2 separate regions of the Homo sapiens genome follow, and region 1 is linked to region 2. Evidence: promoter capture Hi-C in human tissues and cell types (Jung and others, 2019). All regions are on one chromosome and are shown on one strand. Each heading gives the region's core, a stretch centred on a gene start or on the middle of the fragment in contact. The rest is flanking DNA. Distances are from core to core; before and after follow the strand shown. Region 1 has its middle 160 kb from the start of LINC02513. Region 2 holds the start of UGDH (UDP-glucose 6-dehydrogenase).

Evidence for each region. Contacts are between HindIII fragments. The study calls those that stand out against the background at their distance.
Region 1: a contact is called between a fragment that was not itself captured here and the fragment with the promoter of UGDH in region 2, in 1 of the 25 tissues and cell types used here (heart right ventricle).

The regions. Positions count from the first base shown.
Region 1 is chr4:38,203,323-38,207,524 of GRCh38, forward strand. No RefSeq gene overlaps it. Among named protein-coding and RNA genes, the nearest start is that of LINC02513, 160 kb to the right of the region's middle. The HindIII fragment of the contact is 3,341 bases long and covers 1-3,008 here.
Region 2 is chr4:39,524,808-39,528,864 of GRCh38, forward strand. It overlaps UGDH (UDP-glucose 6-dehydrogenase), which reads right to left and starts at 2,632. Exons shown (of 12, transcript NM_003359.4): 1 at 2,476-2,632. UGDH-AS1 (UGDH antisense RNA 1) reads left to right here and starts at 3,032. Exons shown (of 5, transcript NR_047679.1): 1 at 3,032-3,531. RefSeq lists silencers at 2,347-2,526, 2,777-3,076 and an enhancer at 3,457-3,516. The HindIII fragment of the contact is 14,033 bases long and covers 1-4,057 here.

The sequences.
Region 1 (4,202 bases), core at 88-2,587, 1.3 Mb before region 2:
GGCGTTCCGGGGCATGTTCTTCTCTTGGCAATGCCAGAAGCACATATGAGATGAATGGAAATACACAATACATAAGGCCTGTGTGTATTATGGGCACATTGTTTCTTCTGCCCACATTTCATTGGCTGAATCAAGTCACAAGCCACTCAAGCCCAAAACCAGTGGGATGGGCTGTACACTCCATCTCTAGCAAGGTCCCATGAGAACTGCAAAGTCCCATGGCAAAGGGTGTTGATCCTGGCAGCAGTGAACAATTGGGAATAATGATGCACTTGACCATAGGAATATATGTGGAGCATGCATGGTATTCAGGGACTAGGCCTTATGCTGTACATGCACCATCTCATTGAAGCCTCACAGCAATCCTATGAAGTAGATTATTATTATTCCTATTATTCAATGAGAGAGTTTAGGCTCAAAGCAGTTCATGACTCAAGGTCCCACTGAAATAAATGGACTATCAGGGGCATGTGCCCAGGTCTGCCTGGCAGGAACGCTCATGTTCTTAACCCTGACTCAACTCTGCTGAAAGAACTGGCTGTGATGAAAGAAAAGCTGCCAGTAATTTTTCAAAAGCTGTAGGTGATAGGGAAGGCATCGGAAGACCAGATACACGCAAATGGATGCATTTTTCAAGGGGTGGGAGAAAGTGAACTTCTGAAATGAGATAAGCTTGAGTTTTGTGTGTCAAGGATGGTTGCTTTATCAAGAAAAACAAAAAAACAAAAAACAAAACAAAACAAAACAAAAACCAAACTCTAGAGAAAAAGCCACCATCTCTGTGGCTGGGCTAATGAATCAGGCTGGACACTAGAACTGTAGTAGACTAGTGGAATTCATCTGAACTTCATGTTAATCCCTCAGCTTGGATGGATATATTCAGCTACTCCATCTACTCCCAGTCTTGGTTCCATATCCTTGTGGTGGTGCTATTCTTTAATGCCTTAATTCTCAACTTGCCTATAGCTTAATCCTACTGCCTTAATTCTCAACTTGCCTATACCCTGGGCCTTTGATTTGAGTCCCCTCACTGATAGCTTGGGGTCTCCCTAAATGAATGTCTGTAGATTTCTGCTGCTCACCCATACTGTCCTGTATATGATTCTCAGACAAAGCCTGGCACCTGACTCCCTGCTCTCCTCACCAAGCTGGCACGCCATCAGGACTCCTGTGTCCTCTCACCCTGAGGAGGGATACTCCCCCAGGAACATTCTAGAACACATTTAGAACAAGTGACTCATGGGCAGTGCTAACGGTAATCTGGAGGGTAGCATGAGCTCAGTGAGGGCGAACATGGCTCCGCAAACCTGATTTCCGTTGTTAGAAAATTGGACTGCCAGATCAAGGGGCGGTCATGAGGTTAGAATTTCAGATTTCATCAAGGGATTTGACAGACCCTTTCATGATCTCTTTTCGAAGAAGACTGAGAAACATTGGCTGATTTAGGACAAATAGATTAGTGCTGGCTGGTTAAAAAATTATGCTGTCATTAATCAGATGTGCTGATTAATGACAGCCAGAGGGAGGCAGCTGGTGTTGAACAATAGACCTTTGTCCTCAGCCAGGTCCTGTCCGGGGTTCTCACTCTCGCTCTCTCTATAGCCACCCCATCTCTCTTTGAACAACTTGGATGAAGACACAAGAGGCTGCTTTATAAAACTGATGGCAGGCATAAACAAAGGAGGAGTAGCTAGTATAAAAATGAGAAGGTCAAGATTAAAATAATAATAATATCTATAACACCTTACAAAGCCTTTCTCTAGAGAATGATGTTATCTAAGTCTCTAAACAACTCTGTGTAGTTAGGGTGACCAATGAGCCTCATTTCAGATTGGATTCAGGGCTTAAGTCAATTCCCAGAATCACGCAACGTTGTACTGCAGAACCCAGGTTTAAACACTTATTTTTCTGATTCCAAATTTTATACCCTTTAAAATTGGCCAAAATAAACAAGAGGAAATTAATGGAAACATTTTTTAAAATACACAAGCACAGGTTGGGAGAACCTAACGTACCAACCGCCATGGGAATGACCCTCAGCATCTCTCCCTCGTTCCCTAGCTCTGAGACAGCTGCCCACTGCTTCACTGTGACAGAGCTGGCATTCTCCTCCCCAACCTGGCCTCTTCCAGGCAATTGGTAAGCCCATCCAGCTGGAGCAGAAGAACAGAAATGTGGACTTGGCCCCCTAGTCTCATAAAGCTACAACTGCTGGTCTGATTCAGGGGCCCCTGTGGCATGGTGGAAAAGACATGAGCTTACAAGTCCTGTGAATTAATTTACTTTTAAAAGTAAATTAAATTTACTTGCCTTGGGCAAGTAAACTAAACCTGGCCAAGCCTCAGTTTCTTTTTTGTAAAAGGGGAGACTAATGATACAAATCTTAGTGGACAGTGGTGAGGACTGCAAGAGATGATGCATGTAAAAATCTTGGCACAGGGCCTGGCAGATAGAAAATCTCAATAACTTGCAGTTCACCTTCAGAGTTGGGAATTCATAAGTCGCAGCATGGATTGAACCAGGATTGTCGTACCCTCTGCACCATCATGGTACTCTTGCCCTTTCTGGATCTAAGTCCTGGCTTCAGTGATCCAAACGTGGGTAGATTTTAATTCTTCTGATAGGAGGCCCTCCCTATTCAAGAGATAAGAGAATGCCTAACACATGGCCAGCCATGCTTGTTCTGCTGTGCCTTTTAATTGTGCAGAAAATAATAATGATAATAGAACCTTCTAGTATTTCAGAAGGTTGGAACATCATGAGAACTTACCATTTAGATTCCCCAGTCAGGTAGACGAATGGATTGAGCAACTCATCTGTTTTCCTTCACTTCTTGGAGGTTTGGTAGAGGGAACAGGAAGCATGGAGGAAGGTGCAGAATTTGTGGGGAGCAAGTACCTTTGTGAATCTCTTTCTCACTGTTGCATTTTGTTTTCTTTCTGAGTTTCTCTATCTTCTGGGTGATACAAGGAAGGTACTGCTTGCCTAGAATTTAATACTCTTTTCTGTTTGTTTTAATCCCTACCAGGACCAGGTGTTCTTTTGGTTTTTGAAGTTCTCATCAATAGGAGTTTACTTATTTGGCACCATAAAACCCTGCTTTAAACAGGATACACAATTTTATGCATCATAAAAATAAAAACAAATTAAGTATTTTTGAAAGCAGTGTGTTTTAAATTATATCCAAATAACAAACACTCACCTAGGGCAAAAGATGAACTCTTCTGGAGCAATAGATTGTAGAGCTGATTGATTTATTTTGTGCAAGAGTAGATAATAATTTACCCAATGCTTGCTATGGTAGGGATTTTCCCCACAATAGTGTGGTGAGGTCAGCAAAGCATGATGGTCAGAACCAATGTATCTTCATCCTATCTGCAGGTCAGGTCCTGACAGTGGATTCTGTAAACTCCCACTCTCTTAAATTCACATTAATGGGCGTTAAAACTTGATGTTGGTCGCCAGGCACAGTGGCTCACACCTGTAATCCCAGCCCTTTGGGAGGCTGAGGCGGGCGGATCACGAGGTCAGGAGATCGTGACCATCCTGGCTAACACGGTGAAACCCCGTCACTACTAAAAATACAAAAAAGTAGCCGGGCGTGGTGGCGGGCGCGGTGGTGGGTGCCTGTAGTCCCAGCTACTTGGGAGGCTGAGGCAGGAGAATGGCGTGAACCCGGGAGGCGGAGCTTGCAGTGAGCCGAGACTGCGCCACTGCACTCCAGCCTGGGCGACAGAGCGAGACTCTGTCTCAAGAAACAAACAAACAAACAAACAAAACAAAACAAAACAAAACAAAACAAAAAAAACCTTGATGTTGGTCATGTGGCCTAGCACAGAAAACAACTTTCTGTCAATCACTTCTCCTCCTCTTTTATTGATTATCGTCAATTGCATAACCGTAGCACTCCTCACATATTTCAGCATTCACTGTTTGTTTTTCAAAACTGTTCCTACAGTCAACAAACCCTTTCATACATGCAAGCCAGTTTCATCCATTTCTTACATCTAATTAATCTCTTTGGGCTTCACCATAATGGCACATTTCTTCTTCTTCTTTTTCTTTTTTCTTCTTTTAACAGCTTTATTGAGGTGTAATTTACATGACATAAAATTCACCCATTTTAAGTCTGTAATTCAATTATTTTTAGCCAATGAGTGAAGCTGAGCAGCCACCACTATAATCCAGTTTAAGAACACTTC
Region 2 (4,057 bases), core at 1,382-3,881:
CAAGTTCTTTTTTTGAGTTACCTAAAGAACTTCAGCATGTTTCCCCAGAGTTACTTCTTATCTGCCTTGATTGTGAGACCACATTTCAACTTGCTTTACATACATCAGCTGGGATAGACTACTGATGGCAGGTGAACTTGTATCACAGAACTGGATGTGTTTTACACAAGCTTTATTTTGGGTATTCTCGCCTTGCTATTTCCCATGAAATACGGCTTACCGATGACAATGGGAGAATCAATGAAAAGGCTGATGTACAATCTGTGCAAGTCCAAATAAATGCTCACTTGGAAGTTTCAATAAAATCTTCAATAAGCTTTAACATGGAGTTTGACATAGTGTTAGTGACACACTTTGCATGACACAGATGTCTGCCAACTCCATTTTCTATTTCTTTTTTCTTTTTGAGACGGAGTCTCACTGTCACCGAGGCTGGAGTGCAGTGGCACCATGTCGGCTCACTGCAACCTCCGTCTCCTGGGTTCAAGCAATTCTCCTGCCTCAGCCTCCCGAGTAGCTGGGATTACAGGTGCCCACCACCACGCCCAGCTAGTTTTTATATATTTAGTAGAGACGGGGTTTCACCATATTGGTCAGGCTGGTCTCGAACTCCTGACCTCAGGTGATCCATCCACCTTGGCCTCCCAAAGTGCTGGGATTACAGGCGTGAGCCACTGCGCCCAGCCCCATTTTCTTTTCTTTTTCTTTTTTTTTTTTGAGACGTAGTCTCGCTCAGTTGCCCAGGTTGGAGTGCAGTGGCGCAATCTCGGCTCACTGAAAGCTCTGCCTCCCAGGTTCATGCCATTCTCCTGCCTCAGCCTCCCGAGTAGCTGGGACTACAGGCGCCCGCCACTACGCCCGGCTAATTTTTTTTTGTATTTTTAGTAGAGACGGGATTTCACCATGTTAGCCAGGATGGTCTCGATCTCCTGACCTCGTGATCCGCCCGTCTCGGCCTCCCAAAGTGCTGGGATTACAGGCGTGAGCCACCACGCCCGGCCCCCATTTTCTATTTCTACTTTTATGTACCCTCTGGCCCTCTATTCTGCTGTCAGAGACATAGGAGTGTTTCCTTATTAAATGGGTTATTTTGAAATGAGTTTTTACCTCTGTATTTTGGGAGAGTCACAACAAACCAAACCGTTCCAAAACTACTCTTCATGTAAAATTTCATAAATTCAAATAAACATTCCAACCCAGAAGGGGTCACTAACAAATAACAAATGCCCTACTACAATCTAAACGGAATATAATCCTTCTAGCCCCAGCTCTCTACAGCATATTTTGCATAGGTACCCAGGAGCTAACGATGGGCATTATAGTTGGATACATCAGCTTCACACATTTTAATCATTTCCAGAAATTAAACAGTAAAAGATGCCTGACCAGAGAAAAATATTTAATCAGTAAGAAAGCCGGTATTAATTTTATGTCTAAGGGTTATCATGTAAAGCTGTGGAAGTAAACAAGAAGGAAGATGGATTATGCTTATCCAGTTATAGATTTTGTTAGAAAAAGGAGTACAGCAACGGGAGAAGAAATGAGATCTTTTCAATCAGGGTTGTCTACCCCTTACCTTAAACTGGATCCTGGCCACTAATAAGCACATCTCAGAGCAGACAGTCAGCTCTTTCATTTCCAGAACCCCCCTGAAGAAAGACTACTGTTCTCCATTTCTTAAGGGATTTGAAGAAACTCAAAGGCTCACTGTGTCTTTGAGGTCTGTCGATAGACAGCTACTGCTCTGTATGCCCATGAATAGATCCCTACCAGCGAACCCCTCTTTTCTCTATACTAGAATTCCTAACCCTACTAAGTTATCTTCCTATATATTTATAGGACGTATAATTTTTCAAGATCTCACACAAACATGGTCTCCCGAGGCACCCAGGAAAGGCCTTCCCCGACATCAAACAGAGCAATTCTGTGGTGTAGGGGGCCAACAATGGATTCCAGGACATCCCGGACAGATATCACGGCAGTCTTAGTATTTTGCTCTCAAGAGGGCTTTCTGGCTTCGTTTCTCTTTGGTTTCTTAAGAGGGGCGGCATGAGAAAAGCAGGAGCCCCTCAGGTGAGCAGACTCTTAAACACAAACAAAAGACTACGACTCTGCGGCCAAAATGAGGTCCCCAACGAGAGAACCGCTTCCTGTGGTGGGCGTTCGGCTTTGGAGGCGGCAGGGAAATCTCATCCAAGTCAGGAAAGTGGGTAAAGGCAGAAAGAGAAGGGGCTGGAAGACTCACGAGTCTTGAATAAGAAGCCCAGACGACCACATCCCCAGGACAGCAGTTCCAAAATGCGGTTCCCGCCCTAAGCCCCAAAGAGACGAAGGTCGTGAGACGGGAAGCCCGGGACCCAGCGCAGCGAGCGACCGGGAGCAGCGCGCACACCCCAGCCCCGCTCCCTCCACATCCCGCCCAGACCTGGGAGCATCCCGCCCGGGCGGCGGGGCCAGCCTGGGAGCGGCGCTTACCCACTTCCCAGCAGCAAGCGCAGGGACCGCTCCTATCCCGATCGTTCGGACAGCACCTTCCTACGGGCCGCGCCGCCGCAGCTTCTCCACCCGCGCCCCGCTCGATCTGAGCTCCCTCTCGGCGCACGCCCCTCCCTCAGGCTGCCACGCGTTACACTCTGAGTCCCGGGCCTGAGCCCGTATTTAAAGGCTTTTGCCTGCGAAGGCGGAGGCTTCATTCCCCCGCAGCCAGGCCCTCCTGGATTCTGCCCTCAGCTGCTTCCTAGCTCCCCCTCCCGCTACACAAGGCCCAGGGCCAGGTCCCTATTTCCTTCACGGCTCAGGGGCGGGGAGACTGGGGCTGGTCCTGGCTGGGAGGGCCTGCCCCGCCCCTGGCCTAGCTGGGCAAATCCGCTTTGGCCAGCTCAGCGGCTCCGCCCCTACCGCGAGCGGCGCTGGGCGGGGCTGCGTGCGTGGCGTGTCCGCTGGACCAGGGGACGGGGGCGCGCCGCAGGTGTAGGAGCTTTGCGCGCCTACCTGGCGGTCGTGGGTCGAGGAGGGGTCAAGAATTGTTGTCTAGCAGCCCTCTCCCCGCTGCCCTGTCCTGGCCGAGGCAAAGGCCGCGTGCGCTCCGCGTCTGCCAGGCTTTAGGGCTGCGCGGACACTGGGTGGGTGGTGGGCCGAGGCGACCGGAAGGTCCTGGCCGCCTTTCCGGTCTCCTCAGCACCCTGGAGCGCCGCCCTCGGGTTTCGGTCTCCTGGATCTGCGGGTCGGTCTCGGCGGGCGGATTACTCCTCGCCCACAACCTCGAGGCCCCGGGGTCAACCGCGCCCTCCGGGCCGGCAACCCAGGGTTTAGTCAGATTCCTCCTGACCCACCGCTTCTGGGAAAGAGGCGCCTCCCGTCAGGAGGATGCTGAGTTCCTCATGACTGGACCAGTGAGTGTCCACTCCCTGGTCCCTGGCGAGAGAGGCGGGACCCCCACGCCCTCCTGGCGCTCTTTGCAGAGATGTTCCTCAGGCCCAATCCGGGATTTGGGATGTCTGTGCGTGCTGTGGAGCAGAGAGTTTGCAACATGTAAGTGCCGTGCGTGAGGAAGAGTAAAATTAACCTATGGAGCCTGCTCATTTTTAATGTGGAGGGCAGTTCCGTTCCTTTCTTTCGCCGCTTCGAGGTCATTTTAACACTCAAATCTAACATATAAGAAAAAAAGCCAGGCATAATCATGGCCTTTTATTTCCCTCATTAAGGATTACATCAGGTGACATAAGCCATTTTAACATACATCATGAAGAAAGTGATTAGTAATTTATAAAGGCACATTAAAATACCATATAAATTACGGTTTTCTTGATAGGATCATGATGGTGACTTTAAGAAAGTGGTTGAATGTGGATGAAACAGTTTGCTGTGGATTGTAGCACGTGTGGCAGGATATGTAGGCTTGTTGGTTGGTTGTTTTGAGACGGAGTCTCCCTCTTGTCGCCGAGGCTGGAGTGCAGTGGTGCGATCTCGGCTCACCTCAACCTCCTCCTTCCAGATTCAAACGATTCTCCTGCCTCAGCCTCCCGAGTAGCTGGGATTACAGGCGCCCACAACCATG